Linked DNA regions of Homo sapiens: region 1 is linked to region 2. The links are contacts of gene promoters, found by promoter capture Hi-C in human tissues and cell types (Jung and others, 2019). All regions are on one chromosome and are shown on one strand. Each heading gives the region's core, a stretch centred on a gene start or on the middle of the fragment in contact. The rest is flanking DNA. Distances are from core to core; before and after follow the strand shown.

Evidence for each region. The method cuts DNA at HindIII sites, captures the fragments that hold promoters and counts their contacts. A contact is called where the count stands out against the background at its distance.
Region 1: the fragment with the promoter of CIB3 here is called in contact with a fragment that was not itself captured in region 2 in 1 of the 25 tissues and cell types used here (liver).

Annotation. Positions count from the first base shown.
Region 1 is chr19:16,171,451-16,179,104 of GRCh38, reverse strand. CIB3 (calcium and integrin binding family member 3) reads left to right here and starts at 5,580. Exons shown (of 6, transcript NM_054113.4): 1 at 5,580-5,680; 2 at 5,909-5,943. The coding sequence starts at 5,630. RefSeq lists an enhancer at 138-207. The HindIII fragment of the contact is 31,728 bases long and covers 1-7,654 here.
Region 2 is chr19:15,993,621-16,000,577 of GRCh38, reverse strand. It overlaps the pseudogene LOC124900424 and the pseudogene CYP4F9P. Among named protein-coding and RNA genes, the nearest start is that of LINC00661, 19 kb to the left of the region's middle. The HindIII fragment of the contact is 3,126 bases long and covers 251-3,376 here.

The DNA of each region.
Region 1 (7,654 bases), core at 4,331-6,830, 170 kb before region 2:
TGTGATTTGCCTTCTTCTTCTTCCTCTTCTGTTTTTAGAGACAGGGTCTGTTGCCCAGGTTGGAGTACAGTGGCACAATCATGACTCACTGCAGCCTCAACCTCCTGGGCTCAAGCAATACTCCCACCTCAGCCTCCCAATAGCTGGTACCATAGAGCATGCCACCACATCTGTCTAGATTTTGTATTTTTTGTAAAGACAAAGTTTCATCATGTTTCCCAGGCTGGTCTTGAACTCCTGAGATCAAGTGATCCACCCGCCTTGGCTTCCCAAAGTGCTAGGAATACAGGTGTGAGCTGCTGTGCCCGGCTGATAGTTTTAATTTTTTTTGAACCTTCATACTGTTTTCCATAGCAGCTACACCATTTTGCATTCCCACCAACTATGTAAGTGTTCCAATTTCTCCACACCCCTGACAACACTTGTTGTCTTTTGTTGTTGTTGTTGTTGTTTTGGTTTGGTTTGGTTTTTTTGAGACGGAGTCTCACTCTGTCACCCAGGCTGGAGTGCCGTGGCGCGATCTCAGCTCACCATAACCTCCGCCTCCTGGGTTCAAGTGATTCTCCTGCTTCAGCCTCCAGAGTAGCTAGGATTACAGGCATGTGCCACTACGCCTGGCTCGTTTATATATTTTTAGTAGAGACAGGGTTTCTCCGTGTTGGCCAGGTTGGTCTCGAACTCCTGACCTCAGGTGATCCACCCACCTTGGCCTCCCAAAATGCTGGGATTACAGGTGTGAGCCACCTCGCCTGGCCAAAATTAATTTTTCTATGTCAGGCTGGGTGTAAATTTTCTATGCCAGGCTGACTCACACCTGGCCTGGTGTGCAATCCAAACACTTTGGGAGGCTGAGGCAAGAGGATCACTTGAGCCCAAAAGTTTGAGAACAGCTTGAGCAACATATTGAGACCTCATCTCTACAAAAAATACAAAAAATGCAGATCACGAGGTCAGGAGATCGAGACCATCCTGGCTAACACGGTGAAACCCCATCTCTGCTAAAAATATAAAAAATTAGCCGGGTGTGGTGGTGGGCGCCTGTAGTCCTAGCTACTCGGGAGGCTGAGGCAGGAGAATGGTGGGAACCTGGGAGGCGGAGCTTGCAGTGAGCAGAGATTGCGCCACTGCACTCCAGCCTGGGCGACAGAGCGAGACTCTGTCTCAAGAAATAAATAAATAAATAAATAAATAAATTAATTAATTAATTAATTAAAATATAAAAGTAAATAAAAAACTGAAAATAGTAACTGCTGGAGAAGATGTGAAATAACTAGAACCTACAAACACTGATGGTGAGAAAGCAAACTAGTGCAGCCTCTTTAGGAAGAAGTTTGGCAAGTTTCTTATATACTGAATATGAGCCATTAATCCTACCCCTCGATATTTACCCAAGTGGAATAAAAAAAAAATACAAAAAATTAGCGAGTGCGGTGGCACCTGCCTGTGGTCCCAGCTACTTAGGAGGGTGAGGTGGGAGGATCAGTTGAGCTCAGAAGGTAGAGACGAGTCTGAACGACATGGTGAGATCCCATCTCTACAAAAATTTAAAAAATTAGCCAGGTGTGGTGGTGTGCACATTTCATGTAAATAGAATCACACTATATGGGACTGTTCATCTCTAGCTTCTTTCACTCAACATAATGTTTTTGTTTTCTTCTTTTCTCTTTTTTGCAAAAGTTACCTTGATCAGCATAATGTTTTTATTTGGGTTGTCTTTCTAGTTTTGAGATGTAAGAGTTCTTAGTTTTTATCGTGGGTTTTGTTTTTTGGTTTTTTTCGAGATAGAGTCTCGCTCTTGTTGCCCAGGCTGGAGTGCAGTGGCACGATCTCAGCTCACTGCAACCTCCCCCTCCCAGGTTCAAGCGATTTTCCTGTCTCAGCCTCCCGAGTAGCTGGGATTACAGGCGCCCACCACCACACCTGGCTAATTTTTTGTATTTTTAGTAGAGACAGGGTTTCACTATGTTGGCCAGGCTGGTCTCTAACTCCTGACCTCAGGTGATCCACCCACCTCATTCTCCCAAAGTGCTGGGATTACAGGCGTGCGCCCGGCCCTGAGAGTTCTTTATATATTCTGAATAGTAGTTCCTTATGAGATATATGATTCACAAATACAGTTAGCCCTTCATATCCAGTTTCCTTATCCATGGATTCAATAAACCACGGAGTGAAAATACCTGGAACCAATAAAATAAAAATAATACAACAATAAAAAGAATACAAATAAAAATGTGTAACAATTATTTATGTAGCATTTATATTTCATTAGATATTATACATAATTTAGAGATAATTTAAAGTCTATGGAGGGCCGGGCATGGTGGCCCATGTAATCCCAGCATTTTGAGAGGCCAAGGTGGGCCGGATCACTTGAGGTCAGGAGTTTGTGACCAGCCTGGCCAACATGGCAAAACCCCGTCTCTACTAAAAATATAAAAATTAGCTGGACACAGTGGTGTGCACCTGTAATCCCAGCTACTAGGGAGGCTGAGGCAGGAGAATTGCTTGAACCTAGGAGGCAGAGGTTGCAGTGGGCTGAGATTACGCCACTGCACTCCAGCCTGGGTGACAGAGCCAGACTCCAACTCGAAAAAGTAAAATAAAAATAAATAAATAAATAAATAAAGTGTATGGAAGATGTGCACAGGCTATATGCAAATATTATGCCATTTTATATAAATGACTTGAGCACTGAGCATTTGTCCCATTCTGTGGGCATGACAGGTTTTTGTGTGAACCTAGTTTAAATTTTTTTTTTACACTATACTTTATTTTTTTAGAGCAGTCTTAGTTTCACAGCAAAATTGATCAGAAGGTACAGAGATTTCCCGTACACCTGCTGCTTTCATACTTGTATAGCTTCCCCTACAATCAACATCCTCCACATGCAAGTGCATGACAGTAGCTAGTCTGTTACAATTGATGAACTGACACTGATACATCATTATCACCCACAGTGGTTAGTGGATAGTTTACATTAGGGGTCACTCTCAGTTGAACATAGGTTTTTATTTCCCTTGGGTAAACACCCAGGAGTCTTTTTTTTTTTTTTTTTTTGAGACAGGATCTCACTCTGTCTCCCAGGCTGGAGTGCAGTACAGTGGAGTGATCATAGCTCACTTCATCCTCGACCTCCCTACCTCAAGCAAACCTCCCAAGTAGCTGGATACCACCAAACCTGGCTAATTTTTGTATTTTTGTAGAGATGGGGCTTCACCATGTTGCCTAGGCTGGTCTCCAACTCCTGGGCTAAAGTGGTCCTCTTGCCTTGGCCTCCCAAAGTGCTGGGATTACAGGCATGAGCCACCATACCAGGCCCTGAATCTTGTGGTAAGGTTAAGTTTAATTCTATTTAAAAAAAACCCAGCCAACCTATTTTCCAGAGTGTCTATACCATTTTGCATCAACACCAGCAATGTATGAGCATTCCAGTTGCTCCATACCCTCACCAACACTTGATATTGTTTATTTTTTGAAAGTTATTCTTGGATGGCTGGGCATGGTGGTTCATGCCTGTAATCCCAGCACTTTGGGAGGCTAAGGTGGGTAGATCACTTGAGGCCAGGTGTTCAAGACCAGCCTGGGCAACATAGACAGACCCTGTCTCCACAAAAAATACAAAAAAAAAAAAATTAGCCGGATGTGGCAGCATGTGCCTCTAGTGCCAGCTACCTGGGAGGCTGAGGAAGGAGGGTCGCTGCAGTGAGCCATGATTGTATCACTGCTCTCCAGCCTGGGTGACAGAGTGAGACCCTGTCTCAAAAAAAAAAAAAAGTCATCCTTGAGGCATCTTTCAAGCCTGATCAGGGTCACATTTTACAAGATGACTGCACAGATTTGGCAGAGGATGCTTGATGAGGCCGAGGCAGGAAAGCCTGCTGGGAAACATTGCAATAGTCCAGGCCAGGTAGAGAAAACACAGGTGAGACCCAAAGTGAGAAGGGCATGGAGGGCCAGGCTAAGAAATTTAGACTCTCAGATTCTCCACCCAAGAGGATTCTGGGCCTTAATAAAGTTGGTAGCTGCTACATTAGATCTGCCCTTTGGGCCGGGCGAGGTGGCTCACACATGTAATTCCAGCACTTTGGGAGGCCGAGGCGGGTGGATCACCTGAGGTCAGGAGTTCGAGACCAGCCTGGCCAACATAGTGAAACTCTGTCTCTACTAAAAATACAAAACTTAGCCAGGCGTGGTGGTGGGCGCCTGTAATAATCCCAGCTACTCGGGAGGCTGAGGCAGGAGAATGGCCTGAACTCGGGAGGTGGAGCTTGCAGTGAGCCGAGATCACGCCACTGCACCCTAGACTGGGTGACAGAGCGAGACTCCGTCTCAAAAAAAAAAAATACAAAAAAAATTAGCTTGGCATGGTGGACACCTGTGGTCCCAGCTACCTGGGATGCTGAGGCAGGAGAATCACTTGAACCTGGGAGGCAGAGATTGCAGTGAACCGAGATCACACCACTGCACTCCAGCCTGGGCAACAGAGTGAGACTGTCTCAAAAAAATAAAATGTAATAAAATAATAATGTCAATGCACACCCCAGAACTTCATCTAGCTTGTTCACCATTATGTTCCCAATGCAGTGATGCAATCATGGCTCACTGCAGCCTCAAACTCCTGGGCTCAAGCAATCCTCCCACCTCAGCCTCCTGAGTAGCTGGGACCACAGGCATGCACCACCACATCCAGCTAATTTTTGTATTTTTAGTAGAGATAGGGCCTTGCCATGCTGCCCAAGCTGATCTTGAACTCCTGGCCTCAAGTGAATCTCATGCTTTGTCCTCCTAAAGTGCTGGGATTACAGGTATGAGCCACCTCGCCCAGCCAAAACCTTTTTTTTTTTTTTGGAGATGGAGTCTTACTCTGTCACCCAGTCTGGAGTGCAATGGCGGGATCTCGGCTCACTGCAACCTCCACCTCCTGGGTTCAAGCAATTCTCCTGCCTCAGTCTCTGGAGTAGCTGGGATTACAGGCATGTGTCACAATGCCAAGCTAATTTTTGTATTTTTAGTAGAGATGGGGTTTTGCCGTGTTGGCCAGGCTGGTCTTGAACTCCTGACCTCAGGTGATCCGCCTGCCTGGCCCTCCCAAAGTGCTGGGATTACAGGTGTGAGCCACCTTGCCCAGTCAAAACCTTTTTTTTTTTTTTTTAAATCTCAGATCCTGAGAATGACCCTATGAGGTAGGTATAATGTAATTTTCATCTCATGAATGAGGTTCAGAGAAGTCAGGTGACTTGCCCAGGGCCACACAGCTAGTGGGCAGAGAGCTGGGATTTGAGCTGCAGTGTGCCCATAGCCCTTCTGTATACCCTGCCTGTCTCTTGAGTGTGCCCCATAACCCCAGCCTCACCTTGTGGTGGCAGATGTGGCCTCCCCACTGAGGTCTTCTCTGTGACATCCCACAGCCCTTATCCTTACCCATGGACACATTCAGGCTGTTGTCCAGAGAGCCTGGCTGTAATTTGAGTCTCATCAAGCAGGGGGTGATGGCGTAGGTGGGTGGGTGACAGCCAGGGCAGGGAGATTTGCCCAGACACTGGTACACAACAGCCTGGCAACCCGTGTGGCCCCGAGGAAGCTGGGAGCCTTTGGGGTGCATCCCCAAGTCTGGGCTGTGGTTCACACCATGGGCAACAAGCAGACAGTCTTCACACACGAGCAGCTGGAAGCGTATCAGGTAGAGGGGGGCAGGATGGGTCCTCAGTGGGTTTGACAACTTTGGTTCCGTGGTCTGGGAAATGGGAACAGAATGCCTTCATCTGGGTGTACCGTCCGCCTGGGTTCCTGGTTCTGCTCTGTGTGTGGCAGCATCAGGCCATCTGTGTGAGTGTGGGGTGGAGGGAGGAGGCCGTGGGAGGAGGCCCCAGAGGCAGGGTTCGGGTTAAGACAACACCTCTCTCCACAGGACTGCACATTTTTCACAAGGAAGGAGATCATGAGGTCAGTCCAGGGAGGAAGGGAGAGAAGATCTGGAAAAACAACTTTCTATTCATTGCTGGAGGATATTTGCAATTTGGTGTGTGTGTGTGTGTGTGTGTGTGTGTGTGTGTGTGTGTGTGTAAGTAGTCTTTCTTTCTTTCTTTCTCTTTTCTCTCTCTCTCTCCCTCCCTCCCTCCCTTCCTTCCTTCCTTCCTTCTTTTCTTTTTTTTTGAGACAGGGTCTGTCTCTATTGCCTGGGCTGGAGTGCAGTGGTGCAATCATGGCTCATTGCAGGCTCGATCTCCCAAGGTCAGGTGATCCTCCCACCTCAGCCTCTCGAGTAGCTAGGACCACTGGTGCGAGCCACCACATGTACCTCATTTTTGTATTTTTTTATAGAGATGGGGCTCTCACTATGTTGCCCAGGCTGGTCTTAAACCCTTGGGCTCAAGCGATCCCCCTGCCTCAGCCTCCCAAAGTGCTGGGATTACAGGTGTGAGCCACCATGCCCAACTGGTATTTCCAATTTGTTGGGACTCAAATGGGGAAGGGGGGCAGGTGTGGTCAGTGGACAGAGGCAGAGATGGAGAAGCTGACAAGTCACATCTTGTCATACTGTCCCAGTCTCTAGGCTGATGAGCTTGGGCTTTCTCCCAAGGGTGGCAGGGAGCTATGGAGCATGCATGAGCAGGGGAGAGACCATCAGCACGTTAGAAAGATTCTCCTGAGGCTGGGCGCGGTGGCTCATGCCTGTAATCCCAGCACTTTGGGAGGACAAGGTGGGTGGATCACCTGAGGTCAGGAGTTTAAGATCAGCCTGGCCAACATGGTGAAACCCCATCTCTGCTAATAATACAAAAATCAGCTGGGCGAGGTGGTGGGTGCCTGTAATCCCAGCTACTCAAGAGGCTGAGGCAGGAGAATTGCTTGAACCTGGGAGGTGGAGGTTGCAGTGAGCCGAGATCACGCCACTGTGCTCCAGCCTGGGTGACAGAGCTAGACTCTGCCTCAGAAAAACAAAATGAAAGATAAAGATTCTCCTGAGACTGGGACTTGAGGCTGGGAGCCCAGGTGCAAAGTCCAGAGCCCAGTCTGGGTTGTGGGCTTGGCATTAAGATGAGGGTGTGAGGAGGTGGCCCAAGGCTGCTGCAGGTCCCTGGCGTGACCCAGCACGATGGGCACAGATGAGTATCCCACATCATCACTCGGCCTGTGGGGCCATTGCCCAGGGGCCCCGACCCATGAACTTGGAGCTATGAAACCCAAGCTGGCCAGGGTTCAGCTGCAGTGTGATCGGGGCCAAGGCCCCAGTTGTGTAGTAACAGGACATCCATTATTGATGGCCACACCTTTTACTAGTGAGCCCCATTGTTTGGGTGAGGACAGCTTGCAGGGTCACCTCGGCCATCACGATCAAATTACTGATGGGGAAACTGAGGCTCAGACAGGGCGGGGCTGATCCCAGGCTGAAGGGTAAATGCACAGAGCCCCAAGGCCCCAAGGACAGACATTTTGTCTGTCCCAAGCTTCTTGCTTATCAGATAGAATAACCAAGGCACAGAGAGGGAGAGGAGAGGAACATGCTCAGAGCCACACAGAAACCTAAACCCAGGGTATTCCCTGATGGGACCCCGACAGGGAACTGAGTGGTCAGGATGAAAGTTCTAGGTCTCCCCACCCCACCTTCATTGAGTTCCTAGTCATCATATGACCTAGGGACTCATGTCTCTCT
Region 2 (6,957 bases), core at 564-3,063:
GTTCCCTTGTTAAGAAGAGACCTACTTCAAAAACTGCAGGCACAGATTACTTTTAGGCTTCAAAAAGATATGACTTTCAATCTGACTCACCCAAAAGCCATAGTGTTAACCCTTACCATTCCACAGGCTGAGGAATGGAGACTTCATAGAAAGAAACTGCAGGCGCCAGTGCAGCTTCATACACGGAAAGAAGAAAAATTATTATTTGGACTAGTTAATAAAATTCCTAAGGTATAGGCTGAAGATAACCCACCTAGGCTGGCTGTAAATCATCCACCAGTAGTAGTTAAACTGAAACCAGGAGCAACTCTGGTTCGAGTTCGTCAGTACCCGGTCCCCTGAGAGGCTATTTGAGGCATTTGTAAGCATTTAGACTGGCTCTATAAACACAGGATCTTAGTCCGATGCCAGTCTCCCCGGAATACTCCACTTTTGCCAGCATGAAAGCCGACACCAGGACCAGGGTCTAATGTGTATAGACCAGTGCAAGACTTGCGGGCTAGAAACAGGGCCACAGTGGCTATCCACCTAGTAGTACCAAACCTATATACTTTAATGGGACTTATTCCAGCAAGTTGCCACTTGGTTTACGGTCTTAGACTTAAAAGATGCCTTCTTCTGTATCTGACTGGCACCAGTTAGTCAGCCCATTTTTGCATTTCAATAGGACAAGGAAGCTACACAGCTCACCTGGACTAAGCTCCCACAAGGGTTCAAAAACTCTCTTACAATCTTTGAGGAAGCACTGGCCTCAAACCTCAAGGCCTATACCCTGCCAAATGATAACTGTGCCTTGTTTCAGTACGTGGACGACCTTCTTTTGGCAGCCCCAACCCGAGAGGATTATTACCAAGGAACCCAGGACCTCCTCCATCTTTTATGGAAAACAAGTTACAAAGTATCTAAAAAGAAAGCCCAAATTTGCCATGAAAAAGTTAAATATCTAAGTTTCATAGTAAGCCACAGAGAACACCAGCTTGGCTATAAACAGAAGCAGGCCATTTGTGCACTCCCAACCCCAACCACCCGGTGTCAAATACGATAATTTTTAGAGGCAGCAGGATTTTGCCATATTTGGATTCCAAATTTTTCATTAATGGCTAAACCATTATATGAAGCCACAAAGATAGGAGAAAAACAGCCCCTCCTTTCGAAGACTAATCAAGAAATAGCATTTGAACAGATCAAGGAAGCTTTAACTTGGGCCCCAGCTTTAGGACTACCAGACATAACTAAGCCTTTCTTTCTATATGTTCATGAACAAAAAGAAATGGCTATAGGAGTTCTGACTCAAGTTATAGGGTCATAACATTGCCCAGTGGCATACTTATCCAAAGAACTGGACTCCATGCATGGTGCTAGGATGGCCTCCTTTTCTTTTCTTTTTTTTTTTTTTTTGAGACGGAGTCTTGCTGTGTTGCCCAGGCTGGAGTGCAGTAGCGTGATCTCGGCTCACTGCAACCTCCGCCTCCTGGGTTCAAGAGATTCTTGTGTCTCAGCATCCCGAGTAGCTGGGATTACAGGCCCCTGCCTTGCTTGCAGGTCCCCACATGAAGGAGGGCATGAGAGTTCTGACTCAGCTGGTGGCCACTTACCCCCAGGGCTTTAAGATCTGGATGAACCCCATTACTCCCATCATCAGGTTGTGCCACCCCAACATCATCTGGTCTGTCATCAATGCCTCAGGTACCATCTGAAACACCTGGTGGTGAATGCCGTGGTGCATCTGAGGCCTGCAAGCCCCTCCTCCCCCAAGCTTCTGTGTGGCCGCTGCAGTATCCAGGCCCTTCCTTCTTGCTTCACCCTCAGCCATCTTCTCTTTCCTTCATGTATTCACCAACCCCCATCTCAGCGTCTCCTCCCACTACTGCCATCCCCCCACCACCCCGGCGTTCTGTGCACTACTGGAGCCCCATGAGGCCTCAACCCAAGGCTCTGTCCTGGAAGGATCTCCCAAGCTTGAGGAGATGGATCTGGGCAGAGACATCCCCAAAGTCATGGGGTCAGGAGTGGTCCAGAAGGAGATGGGCTGGGAGAGCCCAGAGGAGAACCTGGTCTCTCCTGGGGCAGGCTGGAAGGCTTCCTGGAAGAGAAGTTGCTGGAGCTGGGTTTCTAACAATGAGTAGGAATGTTTTAAAGTGGGGGATGAAGCGATGCAATGGGCAACATTAGAATTCAAGACCTCCTGCCAGGCCTGGCATCACCTTGCATGTCCCCAAGCCCAGAACAATGAGGAGGACATGCAGTTGGTGGAGGATCTGGACTGCTATTTTCATGACATTCACCTCTGTGGGTCGGTTCCTTCTACCCCATCCTGTGGTTCTTCCACTATATGCTCATTGCCCTCCTGCTCCAGGCCCTAGGAATCTCCAGTAGGAGACGCCACCCGAGCCTGGAGCCCTACCCTTGCCCAAACGTGAGGCGCATCCCAAACATGGCCCAGACGTCACCAGCAGAAGAAAAAGACTATCTCAAACAGAATCGCAGACAAACCCCACATACCCCAAATACTCTTGGCCACAGCTGAGCCCTAGACATAACCATCTCCATATGATCCCAGGGATGTGCCTCATGTCTGGAACCCAGGGTCTGTGTGTAAACATTCTGAGACATTGTTTGAGTATTGTTTGAGACAGGCTTCAGGGTATATTTGAGTCATGACTATGGAACATTTGGGACCAGACATGGGCTATTTCTGGGATATTAAAGGGACCATATTTAAATCTGAATCCTAACTGGGGCCTGCCTATAGGGCATGCTAAGGTCATTTCAGAGTGTCTAAGATCCTTGTTAGAGCACAGCATAGCATGCTAGGGCTTGTTGTGTATTTTGTGACCATGTCAGGACATGTTAACACATATCGGGGCCATGTCACATGTTTCTACTATGCTGCGCTTTGAGGGAGTAAGTGTGGTCTCTGGCTTGGAGCCTCACCCCACACCCAAAGTCCCTCCCTCACCCTTTCCATGGTTTCTGATGGTCCTCATTCATGTCAGCCACCATTGCACCAAAAGACGAGGCCTTCTACAAGTTCCTGAAGCCCTGGCTGGGTGAGTACCTGTAGGTGAACAAGGGTGGGAAAAACCTTGGGGGATGGGTAAGAAGAGGGAGATACCCTTGCCCATGGCCCTTGACTGCCTCTACTAGGGGATGGGCTCCTGGTAAATGCCAGTGACAAGTGGAGCTGCCACCGTCAGATGCTGATGCCCGCCTTCCATTTCAACATGCTGAAGCCCTATATGAAGTTTTTCACTGACAGTGTGAATATCATGCACGTGAATTCTTTGAACCCAGAGTTCCAGCTGAAGCCTTGGGGTGGAGGCACCACAGACAGATCTGGTCTGGAATTTTGGCTCTGCTGGGTGGCATTCAGCATTGCTTTTCCTCTCTGAGCTTTGGTTTCCTCAGCTGTAAAATGGGTATAATAATCCCTACTTAAAAGATGGTCAAGGTGATGTAATGGAGTCATATCCCTGGTGCATAGTAGGTGCCCAGAAAGTGTCTGTTTCTATATTTCCTCTTGTAAACTCAAGAGGGTCATGATGACAATTGTATAGTAGCTGTTGCTGAGTAAGAAACAACTTGAGAACTCATTGGTTTAAAACAATAAGGTTTTATGATTGCTAACAAGTCTATGAGACAGGTGGCTGGTATATTAGTCTGTTCTCATGCTGCTGATAAAGACATACCTGAGACTGAGTACTTTAAAAAGGAAAGAGGTTTAATTGACTCACAGTTCCACATGGATGGGGAGGCCTCACTATCATGGTGGAAGGTGAATGAGAAGCAAAGTCATGTCTTACATGGTGGCAGGCAAGAGAGTGTATGCAGGGGAACTCCCCCTTTATAAAACCATCAGATCTTGAGAGGCTTATTCACTATCATGAGAACATCATGGGAAATACTCACCCCCATGATTCAATTATCTTCCACTTGGTCCCTTCCATGACACTTGGGAATTATGGGAGCTACAAATGAATATGAGATTTGGGTGGGGACACAGCCAAACCACATCTTCTATCCCTGCCCCCTCCTAAATCTCATGTCCTCACACTTCAACACCAATCACACCTTCCAAACAGTCCCTCAAAGTCTTAATTCATCTCAGCATTAACTCAAAAGTCCACAGTGTAAAGTTTCATCTGAGATGAGGCAATTCCTTTCCTCCTATGAGCCTGTAGAATCAAAAACAAGTTAGTTACTTCCTAGATACAATGGGGGTACAGACATTTGGTAAATACACCATTCCAAATGGGAGAACTTGTCCAAAACAAAAGGGCTACTAGCCCCATGTAAGTCCAAAATGCAGTAGGGGAGTCATTAAACCTTAAAGTTCCAAAATGAACTCCTTCGACTCCATGTCTCACATTCAGTTCATGCTGATACAAGAGGTGGGCTCCCATGACCTTGGGCAGCTCCACTCCTGTGGCTTTGCAGGGTACAAGCCCCCTTCTAGCTGCTTTCACAAGCTGGTGTTGAGTGTCAGTTGCTTTTCCAGGTGCACAGTGCAAGCTGTCAGTGGATCTACCATTTTGGGATATTGAGTGGCCCTCTTCTCACAGCTCCACTAGGCAGTGCCCCAATAGGGACTACGTGTGGGGGCTTGCACCCCACGTTTCCCTTCCATATAGCCCTACCAGAGGTTCTCCATGAGGGCCTCACGCTTGCAGCAAACTTCTGCCTGAATATCAGGCATTTCCGTACATCCTCTGAAATCTAGGCCGAGGTTCCTAAACCTCAATTCTTGACTTCTGTGCACCCACAGGCTCAACGCCACGTGGAAGCTGCCAAAGCTTGGGACTTGCATCCGCTGAAGTCATGTACCTTGGCCACTTGCCATGGCTGGAGCAGCTGGGATGCAGGACACCAAGTCCTTAGGTTGCACACAGCAAAGGGGCCCTGGGCCTGGCCCAAGTAACCATTTTTTCCTCCTAGGACTCTGGGCCTGTGATGGGAGGGGCTGCCACTAAGGTCTCTGACATGCCCTGGAGTAATTTTCCCCATTGTCTTGGTGATTAACATTTGGCTCCTTGTTACTTCTGTGAATTTCTGCAGCAGGCTCGAATTTCTCCCCAGAAAATGGGTTTTTCTTTTCTATTGCATCATCAGGCTGAAAATTTTTCAAACTTTTTTTCTCTGCTTCCTCTTGAATGCTTTGATGCTTAGAAATTTCTTCTGCCAGATACCCTAAATCATCTTTCTCAAGTTCAAAGTTTCACAGATCTCTAGGGCAGAAGCAAAGTGCTGTCAATCTCTTTGCTAAAGCATAGCAAGAATCACCTTTATTCCAGTTCTCAACAACTTCCTCACCTCCATCTGAGACCACCTTAGCCTGGACTTCATTGTCCATATCACTATCAGCATTTTGGTCAAAGCCATTCAACAAGTCTCTAGGAAGTTCCAAACTTTTCCACATTTTCCTGTCTTCTGAGCCCTCCAAACTGTTCCAACCTCTGCCTGTTACCCAGTTTCAAAGTCACTTCCACATTTTTGGGTATGTTAACAGCAGCACCTCACTCTACCAATTTACTATATTAGTCCATTCTCATGCTGCTAATAAAGACATATCCAAGACTAGGTAATTTATAAAAGAAAGAGGTTCAATTGACTCACAGTTCTGCAGGGCTGGAAAGGCCTCAGGAAACTTACAATCATGGTGGAAGGGGAAGCAAACACGTCCTTCTTCACATGGCAGCAGCAAGAGGAAGGGCTGAGCAAAAGGGGGAAAAGCCCTTTATAAAACCATCAGATCTTGTAAGAACTCCCTCACTACCATGAGAACACCATGAAGGTAATCACCACCAGGATTAAATTGCCTCCCACCAGGTGTCTCCCAAGACAAATAGGGATTATGGGAACTATAATTCAAGTTTGGGTGGGGACACAGCCAAACCATATCAGTGGGTTCTTCTGGATGTGCAAGAGATATTCATGGCACATGAGAAGCTGTGGGTCAGGTAGGCAGCCTTGCTGGTCTTGGCTCAGTTCTCTCAAACGTTTGGGTTTTGTCTGGTTTCAAATTGACACAGATGTCCTCAGCTGGGACTCCTGGACTTTCCTCCAGGGATTCTATCCCTCCAGAAGGCACCCCATGGTTCACATGGCAGAGAGGGTTCCAGGGAGTGAGACGAGGCAGGTTAGATTCATTAGTTATTACCTCATCAATTTCACATTGTGTTTTGTCAGAGAAAGCCAAAAGTCCAACAGAGAATCAAAAAGTGGTGGGTAGTAAAAAATGCTCGGTCTCTTAATGGAAGTCACTGAAAAAATCACATTTCAAAGGGTATGGATATGGGGGGCAAATGAAGAATTTGGGCAAGGGCTTCGTGACATCTCTAGAATTTTTTTAAAAATTGCAAATTGATAAGTTATCTTGTTATGGTTTCATGGATTCTGCCAGAAGACAGAGATTTGTGGGTAAGAGACAAAGCATGATTTATTACTCATAGCACAGCAAGGAGCATGTGTTTCTTGTTGGTTTGCTTTTTTCTCCAAGCCACCCAAATCCCATGGGGCAACACAGGTGGGCTTCTACTGATGCTTGCTGACATAGTATATTGCATTACAGGGATGGAGCAGTAGGCTTAGGAGATCTGCTTTTATAGCAAGCCTGATAAGTGTCAAAAGGGAGTCATTACCTCATCCCTCAAGGCTGTTCTCTGCAAACACAACTCTCAGAAATGGCTCCAGTTAAGAATATCAGTGTCTTACATTCTTGGCATACCCAGAAAGGATACTCAGGGCACATGGAGGACTACCTCTCCCAACATAGGGATAGTGTAATAAATTCTTGTAATCAATTTATAACAATGCAGGTGAGGAAATCCAACATTTGTTGAGTATGCCCCCTATTGGCCAGAAACAATGCCATGTTCCCACTCATTGATAACAAGTATATATTGACTAATTTACTTTTAACAACTCTGTGAATGAGAGATTATTTCTGCCTCAGTGTAG